Regions from separate parts of the Homo sapiens genome. Here region 1 is linked to region 2. The links are contacts of gene promoters, found by promoter capture Hi-C in blood cells and fetal thymus (Javierre and others, 2016). All regions are on one chromosome and are shown on one strand. Each heading gives the region's core, a stretch centred on a gene start or on the middle of the fragment in contact. The rest is flanking DNA. Distances are from core to core; before and after follow the strand shown. Region 1 holds the start of PIK3C3 (phosphatidylinositol 3-kinase catalytic subunit type 3). Region 2 holds the start of PIAS2 (protein inhibitor of activated STAT 2).

Region 1 (6,192 bases), core at 2,582-5,081, 5.0 Mb after region 2:
GTTTGAAGACTTCCTGATTCCAGTTTAAGAATCTCTGATACAATTAAGGAATTCTGCTCCATTGTTTTAGGTGTGATGATGATGATACTGTAGTTATGCTTTAAAAACAGATATACAGAAATACTTACAGTTAAGGTGTTATAACGTTTGAGGTTTGTTACAAAATGGTGAGAATACAAGATTGGCCATGAGTTAACAGTAGGTATGTAACAGAAACTTAGGCGTTCACTGTATTATTCTATTTTTGTAGGTTTAAAATTTTCCAGAATAAAAAGTATTAAGTATATATATATATTTTTTATGTGTGTGTGTATATCTACATACACATACACACATATCTATATACATATATATCTATATCTATATACACACATATATATATACAGATAGATAGGCTAGATAGACAGACAGACAGACAGATATCTCTCCACAAAGACTACTGAAGAAATTACACCATTAAAATACTTGGTTTCGATATGGCCAGATCACCAGAGTTCAGGCTTCTGCTGTTTGAAAACCCTTTCCAGCTACACTGGGTGACACCTGGGACACACAGGGTTGAACCCTCTATGGCACAGTCTGGCTGTCCATGTGGTCACATCCTGTCTTCCATGAACACTCCTTCCTTAAAAGCATACAGCCTGTGTATCCTACACTGAGCCTACCAGAGTGCTGAATAACACTCGCTGATCAAACATCAGAACTGCACTACATAGTCTATCAAATAAGAAGTGTCAAGAAGTCAGATTAAGGATCCACAATACTCTTCTGAAAAAAACAGGAACTTCATGTTCATTATATTTACCCTGCATCTTGACAAGGTCTTGCTAATGTGCCATGCTGAATAAACTATGAATCTAAATAAATTAGTTTCATATGTAAAATAATAATAAAAATTTTATCTGAACCGATGGCAATAGATCTATCTCTAAAAATCTGAGCTCCAAACATCAGGTTGGACAATATTTCAGACTATCCAGAAGTATTTATGCATTCAAGAGCACAGGATGGTAAAGAATTTTAAAATGCCACAGACGTGTTTTTGTTTTTGGTCATGTAAATCAGTCAAGTGCTTATCAAAATGTCAATATGCTAACTACAAACATAAATCCATTTCTATTTCAATTGCAGTTATAATACTGACATGCATAATACTTTATCTGAGTATGTTTCTACTTCAAATGATTTGATCAATGCCTATAGGTATTAAGAAATTCCTCTATAATCCTACTAAATTATACTTGCAGCATCCATAAAGAAAGGTAAGAACAGTCTGTAACATACCATATGCCACAAAAAAACTTACTTCCATCTTGTACTAAATGCTTTGTAGGATGTTCTCACTGGCAAGGCCAAAGGCTTCCCTTCTGCAAAAACTTGACAAGTAACATAAAGATCAGAGCATGTCTCTTGATATAGTCCTGAGAACTTCAACATTGGGTCTTCCAGGACAGCTTTATAACTCTTTTGTTCTCTCTTCCCTTCCAAGCTTCCTCTGAAAGCACAAGACCAACAATGTTTCAGACATGAATTTTTTAAGCATGTACATATATACATAAGTACTAAGCATGTACATATATGCTTTAAGCATGTACATATATGCATAAGTACTAAAAAGTTTACCTTTGTGTTAAGGTATGCTACCTAAACAACATTTTCCTGTATATGAAATTAATGTCATTTTTATATATGATAAGGGTTTCTTAAAATCCTAACATACCTAATATCAGTCCCATCTTCATCAACACATTTCTCTATTTTATACTTCTGAATTTTAAACGCTGCCATTGACCCTTGATCTACCCTCTGGAAGTCACCAGCTTTCTAGGCCTTGGTTTCATTTTCTTCATTTCAAGTTGACCACATATTCATCTATTCTTTCAGGAAACATTTACCATAGTGGACAAAGAAGCCCAGAAGAAAGAAAAGATAAGCAATACAGTATTACAATAAAATATTAAGTCATTGCTTCTGGGGAAAAAAATTTACTTTTAACTGCATGTTTTTATTCTACTCTTTCCATTTTTTTCTTTTACTATGCATATGCATTGTCTGATCATTTCTTTAAAACAGTGGTATAAGTCATAAATAGATATGCACAGGATACTATCACAGAGGGAGGAACATTTTTTAGACATCAAGATTACATCAGATACTGTGCCAGGCATTTTATATTTTCTTTCTTACATAATTTTCACCATATTCTCATTTTATAAATGAGGAAACAGAGACTTATAAACTAAACTCCTTATCCACAGTCACAACGTAAGTAACAGAGCTGAGAATAAACACTAGGGCAGGGAGGCCAAAGCCAATATTCTTCCCATTACAGTAAGATAAATCAGAGTCTCAAGAGTACTTAGGCTGGCATGGGGAAGGGACTTAGTACCCCAGATAGATGTCTGAAATGATCCTGAACAATGCATGAGAGTTGAAGCAAAAGAAGCAGAACGTCATCCCAAAGGGAAAGGAGACAGAGTGAGACCCTGTCTCCAAAAAAAAAAAAAAAAAAAAAAGGGACCGGTTTTTTTGGCTTTTTCTTTATTTTTAATGTTCAAACATTTCAAAAAATGCATTCATATATCCAAGAAATACTGAGCATCAAGCTGAAGGAAAGCCCTTTATCAATATTGATCCTGTATAAACTACTAGTGGTGTATGCTATGGAAAATACCTTAAATGAGTGTATAAAGTATCATACAAAGGTACAAGGTGGTTGTTGACATATTACTTTTACCACCACCACCACAAACTAAAAAGTAAAGTATTTGTCAGCGAATAAGGGACTTCTGAAAATAAAATGAAATGATCATTCAAAGGTACATCAGACAACTGAGAAAATTTATCTATCACTTACTGCAGGCCTTTGACCGACACATATTTGTTGAATATTAATTGAACATACACAAGAAATGTTTATTAATTATGGATGATGCTATGGTCAATAATTTGTGATAGCTTTGACAACACTCCTACATGACCACCTTAAAAGGGACATAATTTCCAACTCTGTCTTGTGCATCCCTCGTCATTATACCAGTTCTATTATCCTCATCTCAAGATATCACGCCCTTGACCTTTACTTCAGCCGTGGTGCCCCAACGTTTTCCTGCAAAGACTCTTTTCTCCTATCTTCTTGGTACCTTTGAAACTGGAACCCTCATCTTCGACTTACTCCCAACTTCCCTGACTAAACACTGCCATACTACCCAAAGATTCACTCTAGGCCTCTATCACCTCCCGTGCTAATACACCATGTGCTCATCTTATTCTCAACTATCGCATCTGCCTGTGTCTACCTCTCCATAATTTCTGAAGCCTTCATTCCACCCTACAAGCCCCGTTCCAAAATAAAGATCGTCCTCTTACTTACGACGAGACTTGATTTCTTAATTTACAATGAAATAGTAATAAACTCTCAAAAGGCTGAACAGCAAAAACTTTAAAGACTGTAAAATACAGCGGAACTTAAGGGCTATTCCTACTGCTGTGCTTCTCACGGAGACCACGTATTAAATCCTTTTCCAAAAGAGCCCCTCTCCACGATCCACTCTCTCGCGCCTCCCTGGCTACAGCCCTCACAGCCGCCCCCAATCTGGGCCTTGAGACGAGTCACGTACTTTCTGCCTCTCACTCCCAACAGGCCCCTGCCCCCACGTCCCTACGCCCCAGCAATCCCACTCCCTGTCCCGAGTGTTCTCTTACATCTTAAGCTGGACGTTGATATCCAGGTCACAACTATAGATGTAGTGAAACTTCTCTGCTTCCCCCATCGCACCGTCTGCAAAGGTACCACCTACAGCGGGAACTTAGGTACAGGAAAAACAACATAAATGAACCAGCTGAGCCCCACAACACGGAACTTCCGGTTCCGCCCCCGCCAGCAAGCCGCCAATCCACGCCCGGAGCGAGTTCCGACGCGGCGGAACTCCCCGCCGAAACAACCCTTCCGCGCATGTGCACAAGGCGCCCACCATCTTGCTTAAGGGCAAATGTATACGGGAAACGGCTAATCTGGTTACATTCCAGTTTTCCTGTCTTGACAGCACTTTTTTTTTTTTTTAAAGAAAAAGAGACGCTATCATTTGAGCTTGAGCTGTACCTAAAACAATACGAAAGAAAATTCAATTCAAAAAGAATTATAACAGCTTTCACTGGCTGCCGGCTAAACAGGTTACAAGCACAAAAATTGGAATTTTGCCAGGTTTAAATTCCAGTGGCCTTCCCAAAAAGTGTAGCACTAATTTGCTATCTCAAGCAAGGATTTTCTCTTTCTGCTCTAAAGAGTAGGGAAAGGACTAAATAGAGAATAAATAAATCTGGGTTTCATGTTTGGTGTTGTCAGTATTCATGCTACTTTGGACATAATACTTGCGTGCATGTTTAAACTGGGAATATTCAAATTCAATGTAGTTTCAAGCCCTAACCCAAGTTAGAATCTAGAGGCCTCCTGTAATAACTACAGAACACAGATCTCTAAACCCTCTGAGCTCCTATAATGTTTGTTTTTATAATTATTATAATCTAAAATTGTAATACTCCCTTCCAATTAGATTGAAAACTCTTGGAAGGTAAGACCAGTGTGCCATTTACTTCCGTGTCTTGCCCCGCTAGCTGTCTAATGCATTGCTGAGTTTAATACTTCCTACTTACTGGTTATTAATGATGATATTGAATGAAAGTCTCCATTTTCTATGCCTTTATTTCTTTTTTTTTTTTTTTTTTGAGATGGAGTTTTGCTATTGTCGCCCAGGCTGGCACCATCTCGGCTCACTGCAACCTCCATCTCCTGGGTTCAAGCGATTCTCCTGCATCAGCCTCCCAAGTAGCTGGGATTACAGGCACCCGCCACCCAGTCAGGCTAATTTTTGTATTTTTAATAGAGATGGGGTTTCACCATGTTGGCCAGTCGGGTCTCAAACTCCTAACCTCCAGTGATCTGCCTGCCCTGGCCTCCCAAACTGCTATGTCATTTCTTTTTTTTTTTTTTTTTTTTTTTTTGAGACAGAGTCGCTCTGTTGCCCAGGCTGGAGTGCCCGTCTCTCTGTTGCCCAGGCTGGAGTGCAGTGGCGCGATCTCGGCTCACTGCAAGCTTCACCTCCCAGGTTCATGCCATTCTCCTGCCTCAGCCCCCCAAGTAGCTGGGACTTCAGGTGCCCGCCGTCACGCGCGGCTAATTTTTTGTATTTTTTAGTAGAGTCAGGGTTTCACCGTGTTAGCCAGGATGGTCTCGATTTCCTGACCTCGTGATCCGCCCTCCTCGGCCTCCCAAAGTGCTGGGATTACAGGCGTGAGCCACCTCGCCCAGCCTATGTCTTTATTTCTAAGTGCTGCATTTTAAGACGGACATCACTAAAGTATGTGCAAAATGGCGTAATTAGAATGTTGAGGGATTAGAAAAAAAATATTTCCAAGAAAGGGTGAAAGGTGTGGAGCTGTTTAACCTGGAAAAGGAAAAAAAATGGCTAATGCAGAATGTTTTACACAAAATAAGTTCTCAAAAATATTTATGGAGGCAAGAAAAGGATTTGGGTAGAATAAAGAAAAACATGATAGTTATCCTCCTATAACTTAAAGTTTAAACAAAAAGAGCACCTTTGATTTGTTCCTAAGAATAACTGCCACCAATGGTTGGAACTTACAGGAAATGTAATTTCAACAAACAATACAAATTGAACTTTCTAATTATCACAGCCATTCAACAGTAACACTGTTGTCACAAGTACTCTGTTTAAGGCATAACTCCAGCAATGAGTGTGAGGTTTGATGTGAAACCTCAATCTTGAATAAAATATTGACAATGTGTAAAGGAGTAAATTATCTGATCCCAGTGGTGAATAAATTACTTTCATTATGTAATGGTATTTAATGTATAAACCTAAGATAATATTATATACATATACAACCAAACAAATTTACAAATTAAATATAAAAACTTCAAATTAACAATCTTAATATAATAGTGGGATTTTTTACGGAAACTGTTGTTTGCAAAATGATTATGGAATATAGTGTTGGCTACTCTTACAGGACTGATTCTTTGAAATTCAGCACGTCTATACTGCTATATTCCACAGGGCAATTCATTTTTCTAGACTCTTTTTCTCTATTCAAATAACTATGAACTCTTCATGAGTGTAACCACCATGATGTATTCTGGCTTTATCTTGCCTACAACACATCTTTTTGTTT
Region 2 (6,622 bases), core at 1,816-4,315:
TTGCAACTAATAGAAATCTCAACTCAAACAATCTAAAACCTTACAAGAAAGGCATTGGCTCAAGAAAACTGGCCAGTACAGAGGCAGAGTGAGTATCAAAGTCAATGCTGAGATTTTGTGTGTGTGTGATTTTTCTGCTCACAAGAAGGGTTGGTTCTCAGGTTGGCTCTTCACTGTAGCAAAATGGCGAGTGTTCCACATGCCAGAAAGTCTTATCTCTAATCACTGAATAAATGTCCTAGGCTTCCCTCTGATTAGCCTACCTTAGGGCACGGGTCCACACTTGATCTACTTGGCAAAGCCTATAAATGCTCAGTACTAATCAGATTTATATGCCCAGTTGTGATCTAATACTGTGGCCAGAATGACATAACAGTCCTTAATGACTCAGGCCAGTCTAGGGCAGCACCTAGAACTCTTTGCAGTCAAACCTACCCAACCCATCCAGGAGCTGCTACACATTGAGGAAGGGGCAGAATGAATGCTGGGAAGCAACTACAAAGAACACTGCACGTAAGTTTCAGTGGGGCTTTGCTTTTCTTTTCTTACTGTTTTGTGTTTATGTTGGTCCTCTTTATGGGTGTAAGCTCCTCTGTGGCAGGGCTGTATTGTACTCTATTCGTCTATTCCCCGAAAACTCCTCCCACAGTGGCATTCACTTAAAGCCTACTAAACAATGTTAAATTCTACTGAGGTGTAAATCAAGGTCTACGGAGAATAAATCAAGAGTAAGAATAAGCCAAGCGAAGATCACAAAGTTAATGGTGGAGAGACAGATTTAGAACCTGGACATTGTTCATTCATTCCTTTATTCATTAAACAAATACAAGGCCAACTATTTGTTAGGCATTTATCAGCCATTATAGTCTAGTGGGTTTACAATTTTTTAACATAAAATTTTAAAATAATAATTTTTATTTTTTGAGACAAAGTCTCACTCTGTTGCCCAGGCTGGAGTGCAATGGTGCGATCGCAGCTCACTGCAACCTCCACCTCCTGGGTTCAAGCAATTTTCCTGTCTCAGCCTCACGAGTAGCTGGGATTACAGGCATGTGCCACCACACCCGGCTAATTTTTTTTTTTTTGAGATGGAGTTTCGCTTTTGTTGCCCAGGCTGGAGTGCAATGGCGCTATCTCCGCTCCCTGGAACCTCCGCCTCCAGGGTTCAAGCGATTCTCCTGCCTTAGTCTCCGGAGTAGCTGGGATTACAGGAATGCGCCACCACGCCTGGCTAATTTTGCATTTTTGGTGGAGACGGGGTTTCTCCATGTTGGTCAGGCTGGCCTCCAACTCCCAACCTCAGGTGATCCGCCCGCCTCTGCCTCCCAAAGTGCTGGAATTTAGAGCGTGGGCCACAGCTCCTGGCCTAATTTTTGTATTTTTAGTAGAGACAGGGTTTCACCATGTTGGCCTGGCTGGTCTGCAACTCCCGACCTCAAGTGATCCACCTGCCTCGGCTTCCTAAAGTGCTGGGATTACAGGCATGAGCCACTGCACCTGGCCAAAACAATATGTGTGTGTGTTGTGTATATATACACAACACACACACACACACACACACACATATATATATATACACGCACACACATATATATCAAATAAACAATTACACAAATACCTACATAATTACCATGGAGACATCTCAGGAAGAAAAAGTTCAGGGTCCTAGGAGAGGTCATAACAGGGGAATTTGAATTAAAATGTGGGATGTGGGTGAGGGATGGTCTTCCTGAGGAAGTGACACTTAAAGTGAAACCTGAAGGATGAACAGGAGTTAGGAACAAAGAAGAGAGTGGGAAATTATTCTTGGTTCAAGGATCAACATTTAGAAGCCTTAAAACTTGAGGGGAGGCCGGGTGCAGTGGCTCACGCCTGTAATCTCAGTACTTTGGGAGGCCGAGGCGGGCGGATCACCTGAGGTCCGGAGTTGGAGACCAGCCTGACCAACTTGGAGAAACCTCGTTTCTACCAAAAATACAATCGCAGCTACTCGGGAGGCGGAGGTAGGAGAATCGCTTGAACCCGGGAGGCAGACATTGCGGTGAGCCGAGATCGTGCCATTGCACTCCAGCCTGGGCAACAAGAGCAAAACTCCGTCTCAAAAAAACAAAACTTGCGGGGTGCGGGGGCAGGGGAGTGGAAGGAAGACCTGGAAGTGCAGTGCGGATGAAACGAGGGGTAGTGGGAAGAGGCGGTAGGTAGGAGGCTGATTAAACAGGGCCTTAAAAGTTACATTGTTTTAAAGACCTCTCGTGTGTGGGTTCCACCCAATTCTTCAAGGAAATTGAACCCTGGACACCGTCCAGCGATTTTTCTGGCCATCTTGACTCAGCATCTTCCTTCATCCTATATCAGCACATTACGGGGGGGCCATCAAGCTTCCTTCTATCTACTTACTCTGCCTTGGCGTTTGACTCCTTCCTAGCTATCAGATTTCCCCGACTTTTTAGCATGGCCCTTCTGAGCGCTCTTATTTCACTTCTCCCCGCCCCCAACCCCACCGCCTAACTCTCCCAACTCTGCAGTCCGTGACCTTCAGGTGCCCTTCAAGGTCAGAAAAACTCGGCAAGGTTGGTACTTGCAGGACATTAGCAATTCAAAGAGGTGTCACACAACCTCACCATTAGATGGGAACAATAGCTTACCCAACACCCATATTTAGATTATTCCGCCACAACTACTCTGGGGGATGGTTTTATTTGCGGCGGCTTTCTCCGTCCATAGGCACCGCGTGAAGGGCACCGTAAGAATCTTCCCGAATGCTCCTGTCACGCGTCCCGGCCGCCTCTTCTTCCTCCCCGCCACTTCCCGAGGCCAGGCCCGCGGATAACGCCTCAGTTGCGACCCAGCTCTAGGCAGTCCGCAGGGGCCTCCGCCGGGGAGGGAAGGCACGACCTGGGGCCGAGCGGGGCCAAGCCGCGGGGCAGCACGCCGGGGCAGGCGCGGGCGGGCGCTGTCGCCGCGCGGACTGAAGGCGCGGGCGGAAGGCGGTCGCGCGGGTGGGCAGGGGGCACCGCTAGGGGCGGGGCTTCGGCGCGTCGGAGGCGGAGCTCCCGCGCCGTTCACGTGACGGGCCCGGCTGTAGCGGCGGCGGCCGCGGCGTCTTAAGCGGCGCCCAGTGCAGGATGGTGCTGGAGGCGGCGGCGGCCGTGGTGGCGGCAGCGTCGTTGGCGGCAGCGGGAGTGGGTGCGGCGGCAGCGGCGGCGGCGCCCGCGGGTGGTATAAAATGGCGGATTTCGAAGAGTTGAGGGTAAGCGGGAGTGGAGAGCGGAGGCCGCGGGGGAGGGGATGGGAGAGGAGGTGGGGAAACCGCAACGTCGCCGGCCGCCGCCTGCTCGTGCCTCTGGGGCCGGTTGGCGGAGCCCTGAGCCCCGGCCCGCGGACGAACGGGCGCCGAGGGCGCGGGGGAGGGGAGCGGGCCGGCGGAGGGCACGCGGGCGGCGCGGGGGCGGCGGGCCTGGGCCGCGGCGAGCCGGCTCCTGAGTGCTGCCAGTGGTCCGCACACCTGGCGCGGGGGGTCGGGGCGCCCTCCAGGAGGGGCACATGGGGACCCGACATCCCGGTTCGCAGTGAGGGCCGATGTGGGAAGCAACGTTTGATCTTGCACCTTCACCGGGGTGTACGTGTCTGTGGCTATTCACAAGTCTGCATGCTACTCACTTGGTGGAGGACTGTTTTCTGAAAGCTGAAGTTGCGTTTAGGAATCTCTCCTCTTCTTATGGCTGATGCTACCGTTTAGTCAGGTCTGTCACGAGAAAAGGCCCCTTCTCCCACCCTTGCCTCCTAACATCTTCGAGGAACCTAATGTTTGGGGATCCCTGCCTTCAATAATCGGCCTTAAACCTCGATATTTTCTTAGTGTTTTAGTAAGAAATCTGCAAAGTCTATGTTGTGAGGTTTGTGCACCCCTTTTACTCTTGAGGAAAAATATTTTTTTCTTCTCAGTCTTAAAACAAGATCATAACTTTATTGTTGATACCCTTGTATAGCAGAGGTCTGGAATAGGGCTGTGATGGGGGTAGAACAGAAGAGACTTTTTCCCCCCAGACTGATAACCTTTAAAGTCCTAACTAAGTGTGACGAATGAGATGGATTTGTGTGTATCGCTGAATTACTGGCGACATAAATGAGATGTTTACGGACAGAAACCCTGATTTTTTTTTTTTTTAAATGTATCAAGGTAGAGATGAGTGTAAACTTGAAATTACATTTACTGCAACTCGTTTGTGTAACACTTATGATATTAGGATTTCTTTTTCAAATAAGGAAGAGGAATCCGGTAAAAGGTTCAGTTTTGTATATTTATTGTTTTCCGCAAGAGATGGGATGGGGGAAGGATGTTGGCTGGTTACCTGCTTAGTGGACGTGAGCAAAAGAACGTATCCTCTGCTCTAAACGGAGATTGTTGGAGTTTGCACAGTGCCTGCCATATTCCCTCCTGCTGTTTCAAAAATAATTATTAAGTTCCCAGTAAACACATATTAATACATGTTATGCCCCATACTAGTTTATGCAGAGAACCATAAGTGTAGGTAAAGGGTGTTCATACTTGATAAGTTTAAGGGTTTTAGTGGCTCAGAGCCCCAGCTGTAGAGCTTTTAACACCTGTGGAGCTTTTCAAACAACGAACCCTGAACCTCACCTCTGTAAATTCATGCGTTAGATTTAGGATGGGTTGAGAAGACTGAACTCTGAAGTTATATTTATTTTTACCTGCCATTTTTAATTTTTGTGTAGTAACAGATGTATACAAGTTTTCTAAGTTCTTTTTTTTTTTTTTGTTAATGAAAACTTTCCAGGATTTTTATTAGACTCTTGTGAATGTTGTTGGCCAAAGCTTAATGTAAAGCGAAGAATTTACTCGCTCTTATAGAGCAGAGTAAAAGCAGTCAGTGCTCAGATTGGAGTGCAACCAGCAACTGGAAAGTGATAGAAACCAAAGAAGCTTTTTTTTCTCTTCCTTTCTGCCTTCCTCTCTGTTTTGGTTTGTGGATCAGCTTCATCCTCTTTTCCTGTAAATCAGCTGTCTTTACTTCTTGCATTTTTAGAAGATGGCCCCTCTCCCACAATTCATATGACGTGCCCAACAGAGACTAACTGGGGAGAATTTTCAGAGGAGTGAGGGGTGCAGGCTGGGCACATGCAGTAAGCATCATCTGCTTTTCTTTGCCTTAACTGCTCTGTGCAGACCCATGTTACCCTACACTTGAAGATGAACTGTACCCCGCCCTTACATCCCATTACAGACAGTAATGATGATGATGGTATATACCCATTTTAATATAGTGGTTATTCCATGCCTGGTTCTGGTCTAAGCATTTTTTCTATACTTATTTAATTCTCACAATTTTTTCAAGAAATTGAAGCACAGAGAGGTTAACCTGACCTAAATCACACAGCTTGAGATTTGAAAAGCTAAGATTTTTAATCTTAGACATGTAGCTTTTAGAGTCTGGGCTTTTCAGAGCCCGGGCTACACTACTTTGTTCTGGTACCTTGGGGTCTAGGTGGAGCTTCTAGCCATCATCCTGCGATTGCTCCTAAATTAAATGATTGGTAACATCCTTCTTGTGTGACATTATAATAAAGGAAGAAAAACAGACTAAAAAACGGAATAGAAAGAAAGAAAAGGGGAAGAAATAATCTTGGATTCTCAAAATGATGGTCCTTGGATCAGAATATATTGTGGTGGTCAGAGTGATGCTCAAGTAAATTATAGGACCAGGAAAAATTTTGGGCATTAGTTTGTTGGCTAACTTCTTGGCAGTAGAGAAATTGGTCAGCCGATCTGGATGCCACATATTTGGCTGCTGATATGCCACAGAGAGGATTTCCATTACCCTTCAAGGCTACTCATTTTGGACAAGTATAACCAGAGCAGTTCATATCCTGGCTAGTGCTGCATCTATACTGGAGATAGGGAATTTTGGGAAAGGTAATCCTCAGTGTGGTTTGGTGACCCTGGTGCCTTTGCTTTTCAGACTTGTGTGTCGGGGGTGGAGTTGGGGGGGGGAGGGTTGGTTATTCGATTAGGCAACTGTTAAGGGGGTCGCCTGACTATTTCAGTTTTGGAGACTGCTGCGTGAGCCAGTACCAGAGATCTTGGCTGGTCATAGCAGAATATGGCAGCTCTATACCTTGTTGCCTTTCAGTCCGGGTGACCAGAATACCAGCCCACCTCTCTTCCAGTTCTTCTGGGAGAGAGAATCTGATTGGCTGAGTTTAGGTCTCTACTTCTGTTCTAATCATCCATAGCCGGGGGCTTAGAGTCAAAGCACACAAACCTGATCAGCAGATTATCCTGATGGATTGAAGGAAAGGAAGTGGGGAAGTTCTCTGAAAAGGGAAAATGTGGCCTGTGTGCTCAAAGATGGTTACAATAATGTGTTATATATTAGAAGCTTTCAAGGTGCCAGAGAAGAAATTACTCAATTTACCAGTTGCTTATTTATGGCATCTGTGTTGTTAGGAGCTGAAGGAGTGATTAGTTTGTGAATGAACAGATTTTGAATTAACTAGTTGTGAATTAATGTGGGACAAGATCATAAGATTTGATGGCCTGAACTTCTGTCACTGCTGCCTTGCTTCCTCCTCCAAAAATGGTCTGGAGGGCAGGGCTTGG

What was found. The method cuts DNA at HindIII sites, captures the fragments that hold promoters and counts their contacts. A CHiCAGO score of 5 or more calls a contact.
Region 1: a contact is called between the fragment with the promoter of PIK3C3 here and the fragment with the promoter of PIAS2 in region 2, in 3 of 17 cell types (non-activated CD4 T cells, fetal thymus and naive CD8 T cells). The highest score is 6.2, in non-activated CD4 T cells.

Annotation. Positions count from the first base shown.
Region 1 is chr18:41,952,873-41,959,064 of GRCh38, reverse strand. It overlaps PIK3C3 (phosphatidylinositol 3-kinase catalytic subunit type 3), which reads right to left and starts at 3,831. Exons shown (of 25, transcript NM_002647.4): 1 at 3,706-3,831; 2 at 1,307-1,495. The coding sequence starts at 3,773. RefSeq lists an enhancer at 3,874-4,053. The HindIII fragment of the contact is 3,603 bases long and covers 1,492-5,094 here.
Region 2 is chr18:46,913,950-46,920,571 of GRCh38, reverse strand. PIAS2 (protein inhibitor of activated STAT 2) reads left to right here and starts at 3,065. Exons shown (of 14, transcript NM_004671.5): 1 at 3,065-3,250. The coding sequence starts at 3,227. KATNAL2 (katanin catalytic subunit A1 like 2) reads right to left here and starts at 2,970. Exons shown (of 18, transcript NM_001387690.1): 1 at 2,646-2,970. RefSeq lists enhancers at 656-1,408, 2,916-3,669 and silencers at 2,806-3,545, 3,616-3,695. The HindIII fragment of the contact is 2,459 bases long and covers 2,381-4,839 here.